Regions from separate parts of the Homo sapiens genome. Here all the other regions are linked to region 3. Evidence: promoter capture Hi-C in 16 types of primary human blood cells and fetal thymus (Javierre and others, 2016). All regions are on one chromosome and are shown on one strand. The core of a region is centred on a gene start or on the middle of the fragment in contact, and the rest is flanking DNA. Distances in the headings are between cores, read along the strand shown.

Region 1 (3,023 bases), core at 151-2,650, 200 kb after region 3:
ACTTTTTTATGATGGAAATTGTCAAGCATATTACGAGTACAGAGGATAATATCATGAACTCCCACGTTCCTGCCCCCCACCTTCCACAGGCATCAACAGGCGGCCAACATTGTTCCATCTCTTCTTTGTCTCATGCTCCCACTCCACTGATTCAAACATGTCTCAGATACCATATATCCCTCCAACCATAAATACTTCATTCAGGCCGGGCGTGGTGGCTCACGCCTGTAATCTCAGCACTTTGGGAGGCCGATGCAGGTGGATCACCTGAGGTCGGGAGTTCGAGACTAGCCTGCCCAACATGGCGAAATCCTGTCTCTACTAAAAATACAAATTAGCCAGTGGTGGTGCGTGCCTGTAATCCCAGCTACTCAGGAGGCTGAGGCAGGAGAATTGCTTGAACCCGGGAGGCAGAGGTTGTAGTGAGCCAAGATCGCACCATTGCACTCCAGCCTGGGCAACAAGAGTAAAACTCCATCTCAAAAACAAAAACCAAACCAAAACAAAAAACTTCATTCATTTTCTCTAAAAGATAAGGACTATTTTTTAAATTATTACACCTAAAAACATGAACAGTAATTCCTTAATATCATCAAATGTCCAGTCCTCTGCTGACCTTTTAACCCTCAATGACTCCTAGTGGGTGCTGTTGACCCTGACCCATCAAATTCGTTACTACTTCTCCAGAGGAGTGATGAGGACGAGGGATAAGTAAAGAGGCAAACGAGTTTCCACATCTGCTTGAATCCTGGCCTTGTCTTTCCTCCAAGTCTCTGTTTTCCCTGTAAAACCTAATTTCATTCAACAAATATTGAGGCACCTACTCTGTGCCTAACAGTCCCTACCCTCAAAGAGAGACAGTGAGCCAGATGCTTAAGTCTTCAAAGAATGGGGATGAGTCGCCCAGGGATCTGCAATGAGGAGGGGCAAGTGCAGATGGCAGAGTATAATGACAGGAGCCTTGAAGGGGCCGGAGGGCTTTAGGGAGTCTGAGGGACAACGGGGTGTAAGGAAGACGCTTCCCGCCTTCAGAGGCTGTGGAGTGTGGAATGTGAGGGAAGAAACGGTCACCACTTGAGAGGGGGTATGGGGGCACTCTCCTTCAGGGCAGCTGGGTTTGTGATTAGCACAAGAGGTTGAAGGGAATGCTCAGAGAAGAGGAATATTGGGAATTTGGCTGATGACTGCGGGAATTTGGCTGATGACTACCTGAGTTTCAGATGTAAAAGATTTGGAAGGTGGAGAAGGTTGACTGGATCAGAATAAGGGCTAGACAGAGCAAGCCATAAGTTCTTTGTAAAAAATTCATTTATTTATTATTTTTCAAAAGATGGGGTTTCTATATGTTGCCCAGGTGGACTAAGCTCAAGTGATCCTCCTGCCTCAGCCTCCCAAGTAGTTGGGACTACAGGCACAGGGCACTGCATCCAGCTCACTTCTCAGCACCACTAAATAGTGGCTGTTAACAGTTATTGGCCGGGCACGATGGCTCACACCTGTAATCCCAACACTTTGGGAGGCTGAGGCTGGTGGATCACAAGGTCAGGAGATAGAGACCATCCTGGCCAACATGGTGAAACCCCATCTCTACTACAAATACAAAAAATTAGCCAGGTGTGGTGGCAGGCACCTGTAGTTCCAGCTACTCAGATGACTGAGGCAGGAGAATCCCTTGAACCCGGGGGGCGGAGGTTGCAGTGAGCCAAGATCGTGCCACTGCACTCCAGCCTGGGCAACAGAGCAAGACACCATCTGAAAAAAAAAACAAAAACATTTATGGTGGTCCGGGCACGGTGGCTCATGCCTGTAATCCCAGCACTTTGGGAGGCTGAGGCAGGTGGATCACCTGAGGTCAGGAGTTCAAAACCAGCCTGACCAACATGGTGAAACCCCCATCTCTACTAAAAATACAAAATTAGCTGGGTGTGGTGGTGCACTCCTGTAGTCCCAGCTACTCAGGTGGCTGAGGCAGGAGAATCGCTTGAACCTGGGAGGCAGAGGTTGCAGTGAGCTGAGATCACACCACTGCACACCAGCCTGGGCAACAAGAGCGAAACTCTGTCTCAAAAATAAATAAATAGATAAAAAATAAACAGTTATGGTGAAGCTCAATGCTGACAAACGCAACAGAGAGGTCACTTGGGGACAAACTCTGATAAGGCTGCTGTCATTCAGCCCTTCATTCATTAAATCAAGCCTTTTTCATCAAAGTTTTCTGGTGAGAGTCCTGGGGTTAGGAAAGGACCCTATCCCAGGTACAGTCTTCCCCAGAAGCCTCTTCTAGTAATTTTGAAATATATGACATTATTATTAACTATAGTCAAATGTGCTCACCATAAAAAATTGGTAAGTAGGTGAGGTTGGCTTGATTTAATTATTCCACAATGTATACATCTATCAAAACATCACATTCTACCCCAAAAATATGTACAATTCTTTCAATTAAAAAATTAGTTTTAATTATTATTTTTTTTTTTTGAGACAGAATCTCTCTCTGTTGCCCAGGCTGGAGTGCAGTGGCGCGATCTCGGCTCACTGCAACCTCTGCCTCCCGGGTTCAAGCGATTCTCCTGCCTCAGCCTCCTGAGTAGCTGGGATTATAGGCGCTACCATCACACCCAGCTAATTTTTGTATTTTTAGTAGAAACAGGGTTTCACCATGTTGGTCAGGCTGGTTTGAACTCCTGACCTCGTGATCCACCCGCCTCGGCCTCCCAAAGTGCTGGGATTACAGGCGTGAGCCACCGCGCCTGGCCTATTTTTAATTTTCTAAAAAAGATTTGCCATCTCTCCGCAGGCCCCATAGCTCCTCTGATCTGGGAGGCAGGATTTCATCCGCCGCCCCCAGGCCTGGAGAGTAGATTGCATCAGGCCAGGGAGTGACTCAGCCACCCCTTGCTGTTGGACTTCAGTGACTCACACTGCCTGCCCGCAGGGTGTCTATAACCTAGGTGCTTCATGACAAGAAGTGGCTTGAAGTCTGTGGGAACAAGGTCCTTCCGCCAGCACTGAGGAGGGAGGTT
Region 2 (3,137 bases), core at 550-3,049, 190 kb before region 3:
AACCCTACTGGGGCCAGCCCTGCGTTGGCCCCAAGGGCTTTCTTTCTTGATATTGGACATGACTGTGGACTTCACCCCTTCTGAGGCCTTCCTGGGTGCCAAGCAGTGTGATTTCTTTCTTTTTCTCTTTGGTTTGAAACAGAATCTCACTCTGTTGCCCAGGCTGGAGTGTAGTGGTGCAGTCGTGGCTCACTGCAGCCTCCACCTCCTGGGCTCAAGTGATCCTCCCACCTCAGCCTCCTGAGTAACTGAGACTACAGGTGTAGTCCCACCTGGCTAATTTTTGTATTTTTTTAGAGACAGGGTTTTGTCATGTTGTCCAGGCTGCTCTTGAACTCCTGGCTCAAGTGATCCACCTGCCTTGGCCTCCCAAAGTGCCGGGATTACAGGGGTGAGCCACTGTGACTGGCCAGCAGTGTGATTTCTAACTTGGGTCCTGAACCATTCAGGCCCTTTCTGAGTAGCTTTCTAGTCAACCTTCCAGATGTCAGCTCTGGCTCTGTTCTGGGGGTGTATCTGGTTGTCCTGGTTGTTCTGGGCTCTGTCCCAGTGTGAGTGTAGAGTGGGTTCTGGGAGCTGCAGTTGGTGAATCTGAGTCTTTATTTGGTTGCCTGATAGGTTGTTTTGAGGTCAGTTTGATCCCAGACTGACGTGGTTCAAAGTTACTGTTTGGCTTTTCTAGGATCCTGCCCTCATGCTGTTCTGTGTGCCTCAGGGTCTTTGCAAATGTTTAGTCTTCTAAAATGGCCCCTGGCCACTTTGGGTACACACCTCTTTCCAGGTGTGGCTTCTGCTCCATGTAGGGCCTGTCTCAGTCTCCAAGCACGAGACCCTGCTGTGGCTGGGTGTGGCAGCAGCGCCTGGCCAGCTTGGGGGGCCTTTCCCATTACCCAGTTCCCTGCCTTGGACTCTGCCCCTCTGCCCAGGGTCTCTGCACAATGGTGCAGCCAAAAACCTCACTTGAATACTGTGAGGCCCTGCGGGCATCTCTAGACAAATGGGCCTTTAAGTTTGGGGCCTGGAAGCTGGTTTGTCTGGCCAGACCTGCTGGGCAGCCTGTATGCTGGGAGCAGCAGCTGCTGGAAACTCAGCTTGGGGAGCGGGGAGGGAAGCATGCAGAGAGGGCTGCGGGTTCTGGTGCAGGTAGGTGGGGCAGTGGAGGCTGGGTCGCCAAGCTGGCGAGGGCCATCTTGGGTCAGTTGGGATGGCCTTCAGTCGGTGAGAGTACCCCCATATTGGCAGAGGTGGTTAGTGCAACTTGAGGGTAATTCCCAGGTGCAGAGGTGTGTCCTTGATTTCATGATGAGGGTCAGTCTTGGGCCGGTGAGGACATTCCCACGCACCACCCTCCCACTGTGGTTTCTTTGTGTCCGTTATAGGAGGAGCCAAGGTGGCAGAGTGGTGTGGGGTGGGGATCACTGTGCATGTGGGGGCTTGAGGTGAGAAGCCTGCTGCAAGGTGCAGCTTGCGTCGAGTAGGCCAAACAGCTGAGCTTCCGTGAAGTGGTGATGAGGTGGTATGGGTGTGTCTGACCCCCACCCCCACCCAGGATGGTACCCACGCTGGTGGGGACTCAATAATGGCTCTAGAAGGAAGGGGCTGGGCTCTGTCGCTGCATGTGTGCCAGCGGAGGAGGCATCCAGGGGCACGCCTTCATTTTAAAAATTATAGAGTAGAGAAAGTCAAAAATAAATATTGCTTCTGAAGCTTCTTTGAAGACTGGCATGTATGTTGGGGTGTGTTCTTCCAGGCTGGGCTGTTTTCTTTGAACTCATTCATGCGTTCATCCACTCATTCAGTGTATGCTGACTGAGCACCTACTATGTGCCAGCTGTCAGCCAGGCGCTGGGGATACGGAAATGAGCTGGGCAGCCACAGTCCATGCTCCTATCAAGCTTATGGTAGTGACTCAGTAATTGTAAAAATATATAAATAGTCATGTTTGTGGTCACGGCTCCAAGCCAAGGTCCAGGCAGGTAGTCTGGGACATTGTGGAAGGCTTCCCTGAGAAAGTGCCACTGGACTTGAGATCCGAGGGTAAGTTGGCCAGAAGAGCATGGGTAGCCTGTGCCAGGCAGTGGCATTCAGCACTGGCAAGGCTGGGAGACAGGAAGAAATTTGGCACATTTGAGGATCAGAAGAGGAAGTTCCCGTTCTGGCAGGAGGAGAGCATGGGCAGGTAGGGCTGCAGAGGTGGGAGGGGCCGACTCTGCTTGGCTCTGGGGTCATGCTGAGGAGCTGGGCCACAGAGTCTACTGCTGAGGTCAGGGACTTGGTCTGTGTGGCTCACAGCTATATGGCTGGTGCCTGGAAGGACGCCCAGCACATAGTAGGTGCTTAGGGAGTATCAAAATGAATGAGCGAGGGAGTGAAGGGAAAAGATGGGCATTTTTACCAGATGGGGATGGTTCTACATGAACATTTCCATAACCTGCTTTTTTTTCTGCATAAACAGCAAATTTTTAATGTCTTTCTGTGTCAATACATATGCTGTTGTGATGAAATTCTTGATGTTTTCTCATGCTTTCCTTTCTGTCCAGGAAGGAGTGGAGGCCCTGGTGCCCGGCCCTTGGTGCTGAGTATCCAGCAAGAGTGACCGGGGTGAAGAAGCAAAGACTCGGTGAGTGTGCCCCACAGAGTGGCCAGGAGCAGGGGTGCACAGGGGTCCTATGGACCAGGCTGAGCAGCTTGGATTTGATGCAGGGTCAGTGGAGAGCTATAGAGGGGGTGTCAGCAGGGGGCATGACATGATCCAGTGTGCACTGGTGAGAGATTGTGGAGGCCTGGACCAGGGAGGCAGTGACAGAAGTGGAGAGAAGGGATGTGAGTGCTATTTAGGGAGGTAGAGTAGACAGGACGTGGTGAAGGATTGAATGTGGGGCATGAAGGAGGGGAGGTGTCAAGGATGGTGCCTGAGTTTCTGGCTGGAGTGGATGATAGAGGTGGATGGGGAATGACATACAGCTCGTCAGCTACTGTAGGTGTGAAATAGGCTTCCGGGTGATGTCCTGGGACTTACACCAGGATCTTTCTTCTGCTTCTCCATTCGCCACGTTTCTGTAGAAAAGACTGTTCCCATCGACTGTAGGTTGTCGTAGAAAGAGCTTGGTGCCTGCAGGATCTGGGCATGTCCTCTG
Region 3 (3,080 bases), core at 120-2,619:
TACCAAAAGCATTTCTCTATACCATTAAAAAATTTTTTTAAGTTTATGCAGCCATTTAAAGTGGCTGCATAAACTCTCATTTAGATGTTTATTTGAACATTTAGTTTAAAATTCCTTTCCCTTTTTAACTTTTCATTTTGAAATAACTTCTTATTTACAAAAGAGTTGTAGAAATATTACAAAGAACTCCCATATGTCCCCTTCAGCTAGCTTATTGTGATGTCTGTCAGATTTCTCAACTTCAAAGTTACTCTGTTCCCCTCTGTTAATAATTAGTGAGGAAATAGTTTAAAACTATTTTATATCTTATTTTTTATTTATTTATTTATAAGAGATAGGGTCTTGCTCTGTCACTCAGGCTGGAGTGCGGTGGCATGATCTTAGCTCATTGCAGCCTCTAACTCCTGGGCTCAAGTAATCCTCCCTCCTCAGCCTCCCAAGTAGCTGGGACTACAGGCACATGCCACTATGCCCAGCTAATCTTAAAATTTTTTCTAGAGGTGGAATTTTGCTGTGTTGCCCAGGCTGGTCTTGAACTCTTGGCCTCATGTGATCCTCCTACCTTGGCCTCCCAAAGTGCTAGTATTACAGGCATGGGCTACTGTGCCTGGCCTATATCCCATTTCTTTTTCTTTTCTTGAGATAGAGTCTTGTTTTCTTGTTCAGGCTGGAGTGCAGTGGCACGATCTTGGCTCACTGCAGCCTCCGCCTGCCGAGTTCAAGCAATTCTTCTGCCTCAGCCACACAAGTAGCTGAGATTACAGGTGGGTGCCACCATGCCTGGCTAATTTTTGTATTTTTAGTAATATGGGGTTTCCCCATGTTGGCCAGGCTGGTCTCGAACTCCTGACCTCAAATGATCCGCCTGCCTCGGCCTCCCAAAGTGCTGGGATTACAGGTGTAAGCCATTGTTTCTGGCCCTGTATCCCATTTCTTGTAAAACTTGTATGCATTAATTTTAGCATCCATTGATGTTTCTTGGGTGAATTATTACTATAATGGTTCCTAAATGGTGATTTTCTAATTACATTATTCCTTCTATTTTCATCAGCTGTCGTTTCACTCTGAGAGCTTTCTCCCCCTTTATTAGATTCTTATTTAATGGATTATAATCTGTTATTATCAGTCTTTATCTTGATGCTGAATTGCTCCAGATCTGACCAGTGGGAGCTCCTCAGGCTGATTCCTTTTTCCTTTTGACCTGTCCTCACTCTGAGCATTTTCCCATTTTCAGGCACAACAAGGTGGCCCAGACTTACCTTACGCCTTCTCTGCCCCAGCCTTGGAGTCAGCCATTCTTCCAAGGAGACCTGCTTCCTTTTTTTTTTTTAAGCAATTGTTTATTACACTCCTGCTATATGCTATAAGATGATGAGCAAAACCAGACACAATTTCAGCCCTGGAAGGAGAAAAGGGAGGTCGATATTAATCAAGTAATAACATTAATGGGGGCATTTCTCAAGTGAGAGAAGTGCACTAAGGAAAGAAATGTGATTCTATGGTAGGGTAATAAAAGATCCTTGACTGGGGAGGGGCAGCATACCAGTAATTAACTGATCTGAAGAATCAGTAGAAATTAACTTGGTAAAAAGTGAAAGTGGATGGCTGAGTGGGACCAGCATTCAGAAGGCAGGTGCCTGCAGAGAAAGCCATCAGTTTTAACAAGAAATGCTGTATCAGAGATGAAACTAAACCTATTCCTCATCTTTTCTTCTTGCTTCAAACATAACTTTGAAAAATCATTTATGCTGTCTTTAGCCTCATCCCTTCCCCAAACTTCACATTGTTCTGGGTTTTAGGTGTCTCAAAAATTTTTTTTTTCTCCCGGAAGACCCATGACTCCTCTTGAATATTAAGTGCCTTTTTCTATCTGTGTCCTAAACCTTTTTTAAAAAAATAATTTCAACTTTTATTTTCAATTCAGTGATACATGTTCAGGTTTGTTACATGGGTATTGTGTGATGCTGAGATTTGGAGTATGATTGATCCTGTCACCCATGTACTCAGCATAGTACCCAACAGTTCATTTTTCAACCCTTGCGCCTTCACCCCTCATCCCCATCTAGTAGTCTCCAGTGTCTGTTATTGCCATCTGTGTGTCCGTAAGTACCCAATGTTTAGCTGCCACTTACAAGTAAGAACATGTGGTATTTGGTTTTCTGTTCCTGCGTTAATTTGCTTAGGATGATGGCCTCCAGCAGCAACCATGTTGCTGCAAAGACCTGAATTCATTCTTTTTTTATGGCTGCACCCTGCTTCTTGTTAGTGGAGAATAGTATTTCAAAACCAAGATCTACGGAGGTTATCGTGAGCTGAAATCGCACCATTGCACTCCAGCCTGGGCAACAAGAGCGAAACTCCTTCTCAGAAAACAAAAACAAAAACAAAAACACCATCAAAATCTAGGTACTAGATATGCTTCATGCTGTTGAGATATGACCACTGCCAGGGTCTTTCTGTGGGCAGAGCTAAAGAGTTATATGTTGGGGGGGTGGGCACAGTGGCGCACGCCTGTAATCCCAGCACTTTGGGAGGCCAAGGCAGGAGGATCATTTGAGTCTAGGAGTTTGATACCAACCTGGGCCACATAGCAAGACCCTGTTGCCACAAAAAGTTAAAAAAATTTTAGTAGCTGGGCGTGGTGACACGTGCCTATGGTCCTACCTACTTGGGAAGCTGAGATGGGAGGATCACTTGAGCCCAGGAGGTCGAGGTTGCAGTGAGGTATGATCACGCCACTGCACTCTGGTCTGAATGACAGAAACTGTTTAAAAAAAATTATATGTGTGTATACACACAAATGTACACACACTATCCTCACTATATTTATTTTTATGTCTTTGTATATATAACACACATATATACACATATGTATACACACATATGTACATATACACACACACACATATATATTTCTGTATTATTGTTCGTTTTGAGACAGAGTCTCTCTTTGTCGCCCAGGCTGGAGTGCAGTTGCATGTTCTCAGCTCACTGCAGCCTTCACTGCCTAGGCTCAAGTGCTCCTCCCACTGCAGACTCCTGAGTAACTGGGACTACAGGCACATGCCACCAGGCCTAGC

Evidence for each region. Contacts are between HindIII fragments. The CHiCAGO score rates a contact against its expected background, and 5 or more counts as called.
Region 1: a contact is called between a fragment that was not itself captured here and the fragment with the promoter of ST3GAL3-AS1 in region 3, in 1 of 17 cell types (endothelial precursors). The highest score is 5.3, in endothelial precursors.
Region 2: a fragment that was not itself captured here is called in contact with the fragment with the promoter of ST3GAL3-AS1 in region 3 in 2 of 17 cell types (megakaryocytes and M1 macrophages); the score reaches 8.0 in megakaryocytes.

The regions. Positions count from the first base shown.
Region 1 is chr1:43,926,845-43,929,867 of GRCh38, forward strand. The region is part of intron 11 of ST3GAL3 (ST3 beta-galactoside alpha-2,3-sialyltransferase 3); the gene reads left to right. Among named protein-coding and RNA genes, the nearest start is that of ARTN, 5.4 kb to the right of the region's middle. RefSeq lists an enhancer at 2,753-3,023. The HindIII fragment of the contact is 3,253 bases long and covers 1-3,023 here.
Region 2 is chr1:43,535,658-43,538,794 of GRCh38, forward strand. PTPRF (protein tyrosine phosphatase receptor type F) reads left to right here. Exons shown (of 34, transcript NM_002840.5): 2 at 2,541-2,620. Among named protein-coding and RNA genes, the nearest start is that of PTPRF, 6.3 kb to the left of the region's middle. RefSeq lists an enhancer at 1-83. The HindIII fragment of the contact is 188 bases long and covers 1,706-1,893 here.
Region 3 is chr1:43,725,974-43,729,053 of GRCh38, forward strand. It overlaps ST3GAL3-AS1 (ST3GAL3 antisense RNA 1), which reads right to left and starts at 1,370. Exons shown (of 4, transcript NR_125986.1): 1 at 1,260-1,370. All of the region lies in intron 1 of ST3GAL3 (ST3 beta-galactoside alpha-2,3-sialyltransferase 3), which reads left to right. The HindIII fragment of the contact is 15,149 bases long and covers 1-3,080 here.